2 separate regions of the Homo sapiens genome follow, and region 2 is linked to region 1. Evidence: promoter capture Hi-C in human tissues and cell types (Jung and others, 2019). All regions are on one chromosome and are shown on one strand. The core of a region is centred on a gene start or on the middle of the fragment in contact, and the rest is flanking DNA. Distances in the headings are between cores, read along the strand shown.

Region 1 (6,966 bases), core at 921-3,420:
AGTGATCCTCCCACCTCAGTCTCCCACATAGCTTGGAGTACGGGTATGAGCCACCTCACCCATTTGTTAGTTTTTTAAATTTCCACCTGCAGTTTGTTGAAAACATCACTTTTAATGACTGCATTATTTTAGCTTTAACCACTTTATTGATGACCATTTGATTCTGATTTTTTGCCATCATGAACCTAGCTTTGCTTTATTTTTATGTTTGTTTTTTGAGACAGGGTCTCGCTCTCTTTCGCCAGGCTAGAGTACAGAGGCACAATCTCGGCTCACTGCATCCTCTGCCTCCTAGGTTCAAGCGATTCTCTTGCCTCAGCCTCTCGAGTAGCTGGAATTGCAGGTGTCCGCCACCACACTGCCTACTTTTTTTTTTTTTTTGAGACAGGGTTTTGCTCTTGTCGCCCAGGCTGGAGTGCAGTGTTATGATCTCGGCTCACTGCATCCTCTGCCTCCTAGGTTCAAGCGATTCTCTTGCCTCAGCCTCTCGAGTAGCTGGAATTGCAGGTGTCCGCCACCACACTGCCTACTTTTTTTTTTTTTTTGAGACAGAGTTTTGCTCTTGTCGCCCAGGCTGGAGTGCAGTGTTATGATCTCGGCTCACTGCAACCTCCACCTCCCAGGTTCAAGCGATTCTTCTGCCTCAGCCTCCTGAGTAGCTGGGATTACAGGCGCCCGCCACCATGTCTGGCTAATTTTTTGTATTTTTAGTAGAGACGGGGTTTCGCCATGTTGGGCAGGCTGGTCTCGAACTCCTGGCCTAAGGTGATCTGCCCTCCTCGGCCTCCCAAAGTGCTAGGATTACAGGCGTGAGCCACCATTCCCGGCCTAAGCCACCATGCTTGGCCTTGCTTTATTCTTATGGTTAAATATTTTGAACATTCTTAAATTATTAGGAAGATTTTCTAGAAATAAAAATGCTGTTTCAATGGTTGAGTATATTTTTGAGACTCATCCAATGTGGTAGGCACCGTGTTAGGTACTGGGTATATTGTGGTTAATAAAAAACAAATGTATATTCTGTTCTCTTGGAGTCACGTGTTCTTGCAATGAAGAAAGATGAGACTAGGGTAGTACATATATTTAGGTGGCCCTCACAGAATTATTGAGGATGGCACTTAGCCCAGACACTGGATAGGAGGTATTTAGAGATCATTTGTGTAGGTAGTGACATGTAAGCCAAGGTCTGAAGCAGAGAGGTTGGATAATCCATGCAACCTTACAATGTGGAAATAACAGGAAAAACCGTTTACCTAATCTCTGGTCAGAAATCAGAGAACTTGGCCAAAGAACTGAAGGGTTACTGTACTTACTCAAGTTCTTTGTCTATTTAGACAGCATGCACAGCACTTGCACGTGTTTACTTAAAAACTACTGGTATAGCCTCAATTCTTAGAAGACTGAAGTTAGTACGTTTTTATCTAGTTAGCAGTGTGCAACTGCCTAGGGTCAAAATTGCTACTGGCTAGCTGTGTGACTTTGGGCACGTGACCTCGGCGTGCAAAACTCCCTGGTACCCTCAAGGAGGCTCTTGATAAAGTGTTAAAAGTCTGTTTATAAAACAAAAGTGGATGAATGTCGCCCTCCAGGGCTTTGCGGTGCTGGGGCTCGGGGAGCAGCCTCGCAGGTTCGTGCGGGCGGCGGGGGCCCCCTGCTGGCCACATCCTCCAGCCTCCCTCCGCTCGGCCTCCGGCGCGACGTGCGGCCCGGGCCATTTCCTCCCAGGGCGGGGGAAAAGGGAGGAGCTGCCGGTTTAAATTGCCTAGCTGCAGCTCGTGTGCAGGGAGAGGCCGAGACGGCTTAAAGCCTCCAAGAAATTGAGGGAAAAAAGGTGCAGAGATTAAAGTTTTACCTCTTGGTGCCTCCAGCTTCGCTTTTGGCTAACCTAAGTTCCTCTGTTCGGGCGCCTCCATTCCCTTCAACACTCAGCTTGGATATCCTCTGGGGCTCGCCGCGTAGGGCGCCATTTCTCAGCCGGGACAGCGGGCCAGCCCTCAGCACGCTGGAGTCCGGAATCCCCCCCTCCCAACGCCGGGCGCCGGATCCCACCCTAACCCCTCCTCTAATACCCTTGGAACCTAGGACCCAGCGGTTTCGGCACGCCCGGCCCCGCCCCTCCGCGCACCGGCGCCCGCGATTGGCTCCAGGCGGCGCGGCCCCGCCCCTTTCATGGCCGCCGCCTGGCGCCGGGGCTAAGTGGCCGCCGGCGTCCGGGTACCCGAGGGCTCTCCCGCGTTGCTGGCACCGCTGGCGCCGCGGTCTCGTAGCGCATGGGCCTCCTCCGAGGCGGGCTCCCATGCGCTCGGGCCATGGCGCGCCTGGGCGCTGTGCGCTCCCACTACTGCGCCCTGCTGCTGGCCGCGGCGCTGGCCGTCTGCGCCTTCTACTACCTCGGCTCAGGCCGGGAGACCTTCTCCAGCGCCACCAAGAGGCTGAAGGAGGCCCGCGCCGGGGCTCCCGCCGCGCCCTCGCCGCCCGCGCTGGAGCTAGCGCGGGGCTCCGTGGCGCCAGCCCCCGGCGCGAAGGCCAAGAGCTTGGAGGGCGGCGGTGCCGGGCCGGTGGACTACCACCTGCTGATGATGTTCACCAAGGCGGAGCACAATGCCGCGCTGCAGGCCAAGGCCCGCGTCGCGCTGCGCTCACTGCTGCGCCTCGCCAAGTTCGAGGCGCACGAGGTGCTTAACCTTCACTTCGTGAGCGAGGAGGCCAGCCGCGAGGTGGCCAAGGGCCTGCTGCGGGAGCTCCTGCCGCCCGCCGCTGGCTTCAAGTGCAAGGTGAGCGGGCCGCGGCTGGGGGCTCCCGGTGGGTGGCCCACCCCATCCTAGGCGAGGTCAGTTTGCGCTCCCGGAGGGGATCCGGGGAACTAGCGGGTAGGATCTTCCCTGAGCTGCCCGCTTGCAATGTAGTGTTCACAACCTGCGGGAGGGCTCGTTCGGGGGCGTGTCCGGGAGCCAGACGCCCTCAGCTGGTGCTGAGGAGTGGAGCTGCGTTTTTAATGACCGCCTCGTTTTCCTCTCCCCCAGTTAAGCGCAGCCCCCAGGAGAGTCCGCGCGCCCCCATTTTGCTAACGTTGCAGGGTTCAGCACTGCCTTCAGAGTCTGCACCTCTGTTTATGTTCCTCAGTTTTTGACTTCTGAGGATGGGACTGGTCACCAGTAGTCATCCTGAGCAACTGGAGAGGGCCTTGGTGAGGCCTCTGGAAGTGTTGAAGTTGCAGTGACACTTCTCATTGCTCTTAAGGTATTTCAGTAGGATCTGGTCAAACTCATTGTGAACCATCTTATCTCCTCTCTGTGTCCCTTTTTCCCCTTCCTCCAAGGGTCATGAACCCATTTAGAGAAGCCTGGAGTTCCTCCGAATGAGGAAGAGAAAGCTCAAGAGGAACAGATATGATCTGGGGAGAGCACAGCTGGCCGCCTTGTCCCAGGCTGGACCAGTCTGCCTCCATGACAGCTTCCATCTCTGTTTATCATCTGTCTTCACTGCCTGGCTCTCCTTGTCTGAGATGTGTTTCTGACATAGTGTGAATTGCCTAGGTCAAATTGCTTATTTGATTTTGACCTAATAGTTGTACAGAGGGGATCCGAGGCCAGATTTTAAGGAGTAGTAGGTAATATTAAAGGGTGGAGACTGATGTTGGTTGGGGAAGCATGCTGAGACAGGAGTTGTATTATGTGAGTGACTAGGGGAGCTGTTGCCAGGATCCTACAGGCTTCGGGAGTCTCTGATAGCTCCTTGTTGCCTACGGGGTGAAGTCCCAGTTTATTGGTAGGGCTGTTGTGTTGTGAGCCTGGTCCACTTCTCTGGCTTCACCTCTCCTCCTTTGTCTACATGCACCTCATACCTTAGCTATGTAGGGAGTGGGCCTTATACATGCTGTACTGTCTGCCCACAGTGTCCTCTTGGGCCCTTGGCCATTCTTTACTCAGCTTTCACCTCTCCTGAGAAAGTCCCTAGACCCTGGGACCTCTGAAGGTCCTCGCTGGAGGAGGAGCCTGGCAACCTGTCCCAGGTGATCCTAATGACCCTAATATTTGAGAAACTTTGCACTAGTTCACGGTAGAAAACTGAGGGCCCTTGGCCATAGGGTCAGTCTGGGCAGATCTTGGGATTTGACCAGGTCTCCAAACACCGCCTTGAAGATAGCATTGTCATCTCTTCTGGGCCTACTCTGCACCGTTGCCGGATCTCTGTCCCCTTGTCCCCAGCTCCCGCTGCAGCGCTAGCTGCACAGCCAGTGCTTTCCAGCCTACTTGCCTTTGCTTTTGTCATTCCCACTGTTGGGGTGCTCCTTCTCTCCATCTCCAAGTCTTGCCCATCTTCAGATACCATCCCCTCCTTGGAGCCAAGGAAGCGTCCCTTCTTTCCTTTTCTACTTCCCTGGTGCTGTGACTGTATCATGTCTTATCATCCATCCCTATGTACAATGCCTGGCACTCTTAGTTGGCACCAGAAATATTGGCCCAGGGGTAGATCCAGCCTCAGGGCCGAGCCCCTCCTGTCTTGGAGTAAGTGTTTCATGCTCGGACTACCCCACTTTACTGGGCCCAGTTCTGGCAGCCTCACTCAAGGCCTGGAGGCAGCTGCAAATGACCAGAGGGAACTGATACCTCCTCTGTTGAGGGGTGAGGGTTTAGTGTCTGGGGACTTCTAGCCAGATGTCAGTGATTGGATAAGGGGTTATCAGTCCTGGCATAAAATTGCTCCCGTTACTTCTTTTTTTTTTTTGTGAGATGGAGTTTCGCTCTTGTTGCCTAGGCTGGAGTGCAGTGGCACGATCTCAGCTCACTGCAACCTCTGCCTCCTGGGTTCGAGCGATTCTGCCTCAGCCTCTCGAGTAGCTGGAATTACAGGTGCCCACCACCACGCTGGCTAAATTTTTTGTTTTTTTTTTTTTGAGACAGAGTTTTGCTCTTGTCGCCCAGGCTGGAGTGCAACAGTGTGATCTCGGCTCACTGCAACCTCTGCCTCCAAGGTTCAAGTGATTCTCCTGGCCCAGCCTCCTGAGTAGCTGGGATTACAGGCGCCCGCCACCACGCCCGGCTAATTTTTTGTATTTTTAGTAGAGATGGGGTTTCATCATGTTGGCCAGGCTGGTCTCAAATTCCTGACCTCAGGTGATCCACCCACCTTGGCCTCTCAAAGTGCTGGAATTACAGGCGTGAACCACCGCGCCTGGCCTCCGTTACTTTGTTTTGTTTTGTTTTTGATAAGAATTCTTGCTATGTTGCCCAGGCTGGTCTTGAACTCCTGAGCTCAAGCAATTCTCTTGCCTTAGCCTCCTGCATAGCTGGGATTACAGGCACACACCACTGCACCTGGCATTCCCATGATTTTTGAGTTCATATTTTGTAAATTTTTCTGTTTGTGATGAAAAGTGCTCTTTTTTTCCTTTAAATGTGCGATTCTAAAAGGTTTGCTTCATTTTACTTGTGATTTAATTCTTCCTCAGGTTTGGAATATTCCTGAAAAGAACATATGTCACATGCCTTTCCTCTGTCTGGAGTTCTCCCTGCCTCCATCCTTGGTACTCAGCTTTCAGGTCTCGGCTTTGGTGTTCTTTCCTTGGTAAACCTTTCCTGAGCCCCCATTACACACTTTCAAACTCCAAGCACTGTTCCTTAGTAACATTTATCACAGTTGTATTTATATAATCGTTGGAGTAATTATTTGTCTTCCTTGCTAGACTCTAAACTCCTTAAGGGCACTGACATTGACGTGTCTTAAATGCTGCCTCCCTAGCACCTGACAGATGAGGGAATTTTATACTGGAATTGTTTTTTCAGTATTGACTCGGAAGAAGGAAACTAGAATTTCTCACTCTGGCTGTGCCAGAGCTGGAAGGGATTTGGAGTATATAGCATGACAGGTGAGGAAACTCGCCCAAGGCTTTCTGGAGAAGTTACTCAGTTGTGGCTGGACCTGCATCCTAGGTCAGTGCTGTTCCCTTTGTGCTGTATTTCCCCTTTAAGGAGCACTTCTGTCTTGTAAAGTCCAGGGGGCAGTTTATTCCCAGGGAGAATTGATTTGAGTGGTGTTAGAACTGTCTGAAGATAGCCTGGGGGCTCCTCTTCCCTTCAGTTGGCTCTGGGACCTCAGCATGGCTGCAAGATGCAGAGCAGGGCCACAGTGAACTGGCACGGGGCTGGTGCCCACACACCGAGGTCTCAGGCCATTTTCAAGTGGCATAGAAACACCTTGTAGCTGAAATGGTTGCAGAAATAGATCACAGAACATTATTAGTGACCTTAGATTTTATTTTGGCTAATTGGATATTAGCTAAAAAGGATTCATGTATCTTGTTTTAAATATGTTTGAAGGTTTTAATTAATCTGTTAGTTTATTATCTGTGAACAGGGAAGCATATTATTTGTTAATCAGTAAACTTCAGAGCTTGCTATGTTCCAGGTACCAGTATAGGAGGAGCTGCTTCTAGCCTATACAGTAAGTCCATTTTCTAAATGCATCAGAATCACCTGGGGACACTTGAAAATACAGAATCCTGGGCCCCACCCCAGCCTGTGGGCTCAGAATCTCCTGGGTGGGGCCTGGAAGTCTGTATTTGGATGGAGTTACAGAGGCAGGCTTGGGCGTCACTGCTGTAAGAAATCCAGGAGTGCTCTCCTGCTGGTCTCTAAGACCCAGTTCAGGCATCCTGTCCTCTGGGTAACCTTCCGTGGGGAGCATGATGCCTGGCTCACAGTGGGCGTTCAGGAACTGTTTGACTGTGACTCTTCCATCCAGGCTATTTTGGCTGTGCTGATCTGGGAAAGGCTGCCACATTCACCTTGCTAAAATGCTGCCTTTTTTTTGTCTTTTTCTTTTATTTTTTTTTTGTGATAGAGTCTTGCTCTGTCACCAGGCTGGGGTGCTGTGGTGCGGTCTCGGCTCACTGCAACCTCTGCCTCCCGGGTTCAAGCGATTCTCCTGTCTCAGCTTCCGGAGTAGCTGGACTACAGGCACCCA
Region 2 (6,818 bases), core at 3,824-6,323, 1.6 Mb after region 1:
ATTTTCCAAAGTGACGTTGTGTCTCAGACTCTACAAATGAATGTATGTCAATTTTATCCCAATTAATAGCATGAAAAATTGTCTTGCTATGCACTGAAAGAACTCTTTGGAGTGCCAGCTCAGGGGCAGGCGGGTACACGGTAATCGGGGATGGCAAGAATCACCTGTGTAGCTTTGTCAAAATACACATGGCAGAGCCCCACCTCCGCAAACAGTTTTAAACACATCACTTCCCCTTTCTACACTTTTCAGTTCCAAATTCCGAGTACAATAATCTTTCTAGGAAAATTTCCATCTCATACTACTTCACAGACGATATTCTCATCCGTAACAACACTCAAGGGTATGGCAGGTATGGGAGAAGTGTCGGAATGTGAAGTCACTGTAGAAATTAAGTTCCAGGGTACCTTGATGTTTTCTTTTCTAAATGTGAAGAATAAAATCATTCTGCCTACCTCAGGGTTCTATTTAGCTATGTTCTGACTACTTTTTATTCATGTTTCCACATGGCATAGAGATTTCTTATAACTATCCTATAAATTAGAACTATATTTTGGATTCAGTGAAAGAATCTTTTTAGATTTAAGCAGTTATGATACATTTCTAATCCTAGCTTTTAAAATGGCAGTATTAGGTCACCTTGCTGCTGCTCCCTTTTAGTACCATAATTTCAAAAATGCACTCATGCATTTGTTTTCTCTCACTAAATGATATTATGAAGAACAAAGTTTTCATTTAAAACATGATTTGTTACTGAGGTGGCTTACTGAAAAAAGAAACTTTCATCTATAGCCTATACTTCTAAGTTTTAGAATCTCATGCAGACCTAAATAAAAAGGTGGTATCTTTGCTCCTTTCTAATTATCAAGAGAAAGCACAGGATGAAGGATAAGAGGAGACTGGGAAAGTGAAGAAACACAAAGACAAGCCCCAAAAGCATTGTCTACTCCCAAGAGAAACAAACTTTAAGTTTCCAGAAACAATTGCTCGCTGTCTGGGAGATGCTCAGGCATCAAACAATAAAGAACAGTCAACAGAGGCAAGAGGCCGAGCACGCTGCTGCGAGCCCGACTCTCTAATCCCCACAAGCTCCAGTAAAAGGGCCAGCTGTTGCCACCTCGCGTAGGGAGTCAGCAGAGCAAATTAACTGTGAGAGGAAAAAAAGCTGAGGATATTGGAAAATTCTAATTTACCAGCCTCTTTAAGCTATATTGCTTTTAACATTAAGGATATCAAACTATACCATTAAAATAGGCCTGTACAATGGTAGCCCAAGTGAAGGAATTTACCACTGTTTTCACATTTTATTGGTAAATGAGATACAGCTCTGAAGTATTCAGTCTACTAAAGTATATCTTCTCTCACATAAAGAACAAGAAATAGGAATAAATACACTGTAATTTCTAATAAGTTGCACTTCCAATCCAGCTCAACAAAAAGCCTCAAGTTAAAATAACAGCCACCATTATGCTCAATTAAAGATTCCACAGATTTTATTAATATATCTGTTATAGCTGAACTTTAGGATTCTAAGTAGGAACACAACCTCATTGAAAAACTCTAAATATGGGGCAACTTAGACACTACTTACGCATGGTGGAATCTGATAAAGGATATCTAGAGACATGTTTACAATTCATATAAAGAAAATTAACTTCCCTTGGTTTGCTTAGTGGTTTCATGCACACTGTACTGTTCATTTACTCAGATGTTCTATGAAAGTTCTCATACAATTTGAAAGATGCTTATATTATAGGAAGTACCTGTGGTAATAATGATTATCTTCATCATTATCATCATCACTAACATGTATGTCTTTCCGATCAACCCTGTGAAGGACACTGGTAACTATGGAAGCTTCTCAATATAAAGGACAATTTTATGTCATCATATTTTCCAAAGGCTTGAGTTTTTACTCCCTCCCAAATGATTCTGGCACAGTAGTGAAAAGACCCAGGCCCAAATCTCAGCTTCAGCATCTACTACCTACGAGTTCCTAACCCTCCATTTCATCTGTAAAATGAGAAAAATAACTACCTAACTCAAAAGTTGTGAGAATCAAATGAAAATTCACATAAAGCATTTAACCTAATATCTGGCACAAGAAAAGTATTCAAATGTTATTTTACATTCATAAACAGTTTCAAGTTTTTACACAAAATCAAAAGGAATTTATTGTAAAATAAGGAGAAAAGACTCCTTAGGTTTTTGTTTTTCGTTTTTTTTTTTTTTTTGAGATGGAGTCTCGCTCTGTTACCCAGGCTGGAATGCAATGGCACAGTCTTGGCTCACTGCAACCTCTGCCTCCCGGGTTCAGGCGATTCTCCTGTCTCAGCCTCCCGAGTAGCTGGAATTACAGGCGCCTGCCACCATGCCCAGCTAATTTTCGCATTTTTAGTAGAGACGGGGTTTCACCATGTTGGCCAGGCTGATCTCGAACTCCTGACCTCAGGTGATCCACCCGCCTCGGCCTCCCATAGTGCTGGGATTACAGGCGTGAGGCACCGCATCCGGCCAAGACTCCTTAGGTCTTAGAGCAATCTAAATGATCAATAATGCCCCTTGAATGTGTCAGTATCAATAAGTCTCTGATTACACGCACAGAGAATAAAAAGTGTAACAGGCTTTAGTGAACAAGGGTTCCAGGCAATTTCTATGAAGGCCCAATACCTCACAATAACCTAGTAACAGCAGATACAATGTTCACAGAAAAAACAATAAAATAATTCCACACTGTACTGGTGAAACTTGGCTTAGCAGCAAACACTACTACCAATTGTTATTGATGCCCAGATACTTAGTTTCTGAGGTAGAATGGGGCAAAAAACAAATTGCACTTATGATGACAATCATAAGATAGATTTTATGAATTATAAAATAGATCATAATAGAAAGAACAACTTTGAATTGAACTATAACATACCAATCTTCATCTCTCCAAAGAAAGTATTCTAAAGTTATACTATTTCAATAAACAGATTGGACACATTACTAAAACTTACACTGGGACTCCAAACAGATTTTATCTAAGTTGACACCAAACTTAAAATATCTATTTAAAAAATCCTTTGAAACTGAATTTTCTAGAAAATCAAAAGAATTTCATGAAAGTCCCAGTGGGCATATTTTAACACCAGACAATTCTAAGTATGGGTAGATACTGCAAACAAGAAATTAAGGTAGAAAAATCAGCTGCATATCCTATTAAATTATCCATGAGGTAACTCAGTGTTTCAACGTCTTCAGGGATGATGTTCTCAAAAGTCTCATTTCCTCTAAAGTACTTTCACATGACCCTAATCCATTATTAGTTATAAAAACAAAATTTAACCTTTTTTTAACCTTTTATGCATAAACAATTTCAGACTTACAGAAAAGTTGCAAGACCACTACAAAGATCATATTTCTCCTGAAACATTTGTTGTAATCATGCATTATCATCCCCAAATATTCTACTTTGTATTCGCTATGAATAATGGTATTTTCCAAAATAATCCCAACCTAATAAAAATTTAAAAATTAACACTGATATATTACTACAATGGAACCCTCGGATCCCCTTCAAATATCACTAACTGGCCCATTAATGTCCTTAGAGCAAAAAGATCCAATCTAGGATCATACATTGCATTTAGTTTTAAGTCTCTTCCAACTGGAGCAGCTCTTCACTCTTTCCTTGTCTTTCATGATCTTGATGCATTTGAAGATTACAGGCCAGTTATTTTGCAGACTGTGCTCTAACTTGGGTTTGTCTCATGTATTGTTATGACTGAATTTAAGTTCTACATCTTTGGTAAGAAGTACTTCAGGAGTCTTCTTGCATTTTAGAGTCTTCTTGCATATGGTTTTGATTTGACCATTACTGATAATATTAACTCTGACCACTTGCTTAAAGTGATGATTGCCAGGCTTCATCCACTGTAAAGTTACTCTTTTCCCTCTTTTAATTAGTACATATTTTCTGTGAACATATTTTGCGTGATGACATAAACATCCCTTTTTGCATCATGGTTTTATTCCCTTATTTATATAATTACCAATGTATGGATTCCTATTTCATTCAATGAGTTACAATTTGTTACTGTCATTATTTTGGGGCCCAAATTGTCCCCAGCCTGGCCAGTTGGAGCCTCCTTCAGAGGGTTTCTGTGACCTGCTGACATCTCCTCATCATCTTTCAAGCACTCCCTTCCTTTCTACACCCACAGGCTCATCCTGTCCTTTCCCTGCTCCAGCTATGGAATCTACCATATCTCCAAAGAATCCTGGAAGAGCCTCTCCTGAGACAAAATCATGTGAGCTCCTTTTTCATTTCTTCAATCTTCCTAACTCTAGCTTTATGGTTTCATTTCAATAGTGAACACAGTATATCTTCTCCAGGATGTGAAAGAAAAATGTACTACTACTACTTATGTACTCATCTTAAAGGGCAGTCAGGGCTGGGCATGGTGGCTCATGCCTATAATTCCAGCACTTTGGGAGGCCGAGGCGGGCGGATCATGAGGTCAGGAGATCGAGACCATCCTGGCTAACATGGGGAAACCCCGTCTCTACTAAAAATACAAAAAATAAGCCAGGCATGGTGGCGGGCGCCTGTAGCCCCAGCTACTCGGGAGGCAGAGGTGGGAGAACCACCTTGCAGTGAGCCGAGATCGTGCCACTGCACTCTAGCCTGGGCGACACAGCGAGACTCCATCTCAAAAAAAAAAAAAAAGGTGGGGGGGAAGTCTCCAAGGTAAGGAAATGATTTAAAATCGTACAAGCTTAAAACTGGCAAAAATATGAATGCATCAACATTTTAACACTCTATACAATATTCTGTAACAGGCTGAAACTGTAGTAAAAATTTGATTGCCTCCCTTTCTCCAAATCCAATCAACCAACACACTATGTTCTAATTGAACAGGCTATACTAGAAACTTTGATCCTTATAATACATTAATAACTTAAATTTGGAAAGTTTTCTGGCTGAAGTATCCATGACCCTATTCCCAAGTGTCAGACCAAAGATAAACAGTAACGAAAAGGCACTCTCCAGACTCTTTTCCAACTAATGAACAAAGTCATGGCTCATCTCCTTGAGGGTGACTGATGCAGCTGAGTTACTGGCAAAACCCTTGCTTCCAAGGACATTATTTGGTACATTAACACCATTATAATTTTATATGTACAAAAGTAGTAAATCATTTCAAGGGAGTTATATGACTGCTTTCTCAGGAAAACCAGCAGTAGAACATAGAACTTGGCTTGACAGTGTACATATCTGAGTTAGTAATCCACTTCCTTTAAATAATCAAATTGGGAGCGGAGAGTAATGGGGTTGCAAAGCCTCTACTAAAAACATAAGAAAAGATACTTATGATTTTCCAATCACTTAAAAATGTGTTATGCTGGTAAAATTCATTGAATTGTTTCACTGTCTTGATAATTATATCACGAGGGATATAAAAGAAATATATTTGTATACACTGTGACAATGATATACCACTTCCTGTAACGGTACTAATTTAGCATGAAATTATGAACCAGGGACTTGCAAATGTTTGCGGAAGTAATTCTAACAATCCTGAGAAATAACCACTATAATAGTCATTTTACAAATAAAGAAGCTAAGGCTCTGGGAGATTCCCTGCCGAAGATGACACAGCTAGTAGTAAATGGCAATTCAGATTTGAGCACTAATCTTCTACGTTAGCACAAACTTAACTACATTGCCAAGGTGGCATGAGAAAAACCAAAAGTGACAGAAAATGAAAATAAAAGTTAAAATGAGATATGTCTCGAAAGAAGAATATTTAAAGGAAGAAAGAAAAGGAAAGGAGAAAGCAATGCAGAACTTAGATTATTACTAGAGGGAGAGAATGGGGCCGCAAGCGCTGATGGCAAGGGGTGAGCATGCTGCGCAGGCACAGGGTGTAACACAGAAGAGCCCTGCCTGGCTTCTTCAGGATAACCCTATGGATTGTACTGTAATCCTACAACTCAGCTTAGAAGGCACTTTTAAATTTGCAGAACTTCTTTCTAATTTATTAACGATATCTGCTTTTTTTCCTTTTAGATATCAGAAAACTAATAAGACAGGAAATTTAAGTACACGTTGAAAGAAAAAGATACTTTGTTACACGAAGCTGAAGTCAGTGAAACTTGTAACAAGGCAGGCTCAAACAGAGGTACCAACTACAGGTATTTTATTTTTATTTAATAACAATAATGTTTCACTGATTTCCTTGAGTTCTCAAAGATCTAAGTAAATTTTAGTATGCAATCCTATCTTAAAGCTAGGAACCTACAAGAAACAACCAAATATCAACCCCAAACAGTGACAAAGTGATTATTAGTAGGGCCAAGCTAGGGGGGTGGGAAGGGGAAGCCATGGTAGCCTACTGCAGGTGTTAATGCCTGACCTGGGTTACAATGGGTTCACATGGGGCTGTTGGTAGCCTGGTCCAGTACTGAGGAGAGTATCTGTGCAGGAGGGTGGCCTGGTGCAGGCTGGCGAAGCACAGGCAGGGTAAAGAGGGTATCTCCACAAAGGCATGGTCTGGCTTCAGGTGAGGAAGGAATCTGTCTGGGGTCGGGCAGAGGCTAGCGGGTGGGAAGGATGAGATGGAGAGGCACCTGGCACAAAGCGTCAGAGCAGAGCTCAGTAAAAGGGACTCCATGACGAAGAGCAACCTGGCACGGATGTCAGAGCCCAGACAAGGTAAAAGAAGTGTCAATGCTGGGTGCGGCGCCATGTGGTGGCCTGGTGTGTAGTGTTGAGTCCGAGCTGGGGAAAAAGAACATTTCTGCAATGGAAAAGGACATATCTTCATTCA

The links. The method cuts DNA at HindIII sites, captures the fragments that hold promoters and counts their contacts. A contact is called where the count stands out against the background at its distance.
Region 2: a fragment that was not itself captured here is called in contact with the fragment with the promoter of XXYLT1 in region 1 in 1 of the 25 tissues and cell types used here (dorsolateral prefrontal cortex).

Annotation. Positions count from the first base shown.
Region 1 is chr3:195,266,363-195,273,328 of GRCh38, reverse strand. XXYLT1 (xyloside xylosyltransferase 1) reads left to right here and starts at 2,170. Exons shown (of 4, transcript NM_152531.5): 1 at 2,170-2,774. The coding sequence starts at 2,271. RefSeq lists silencers at 1,540-1,769, 2,020-2,549, 2,710-2,889 and an enhancer at 2,140-2,931. The HindIII fragment of the contact is 18,362 bases long and covers 1-6,966 here.
Region 2 is chr3:193,668,285-193,675,102 of GRCh38, reverse strand. All of the region lies in intron 29 of OPA1 (OPA1 mitochondrial dynamin like GTPase), which reads right to left. LOC102724808 (a long non-coding RNA gene) reads left to right here. Exons shown (of 5, transcript XR_924835.3): 3 at 4,209-4,295; 4 at 6,059-6,183. Among named protein-coding and RNA genes, the nearest start is that of OPA1-AS1, 44 kb to the right of the region's middle. The HindIII fragment of the contact is 3,525 bases long and covers 3,311-6,818 here.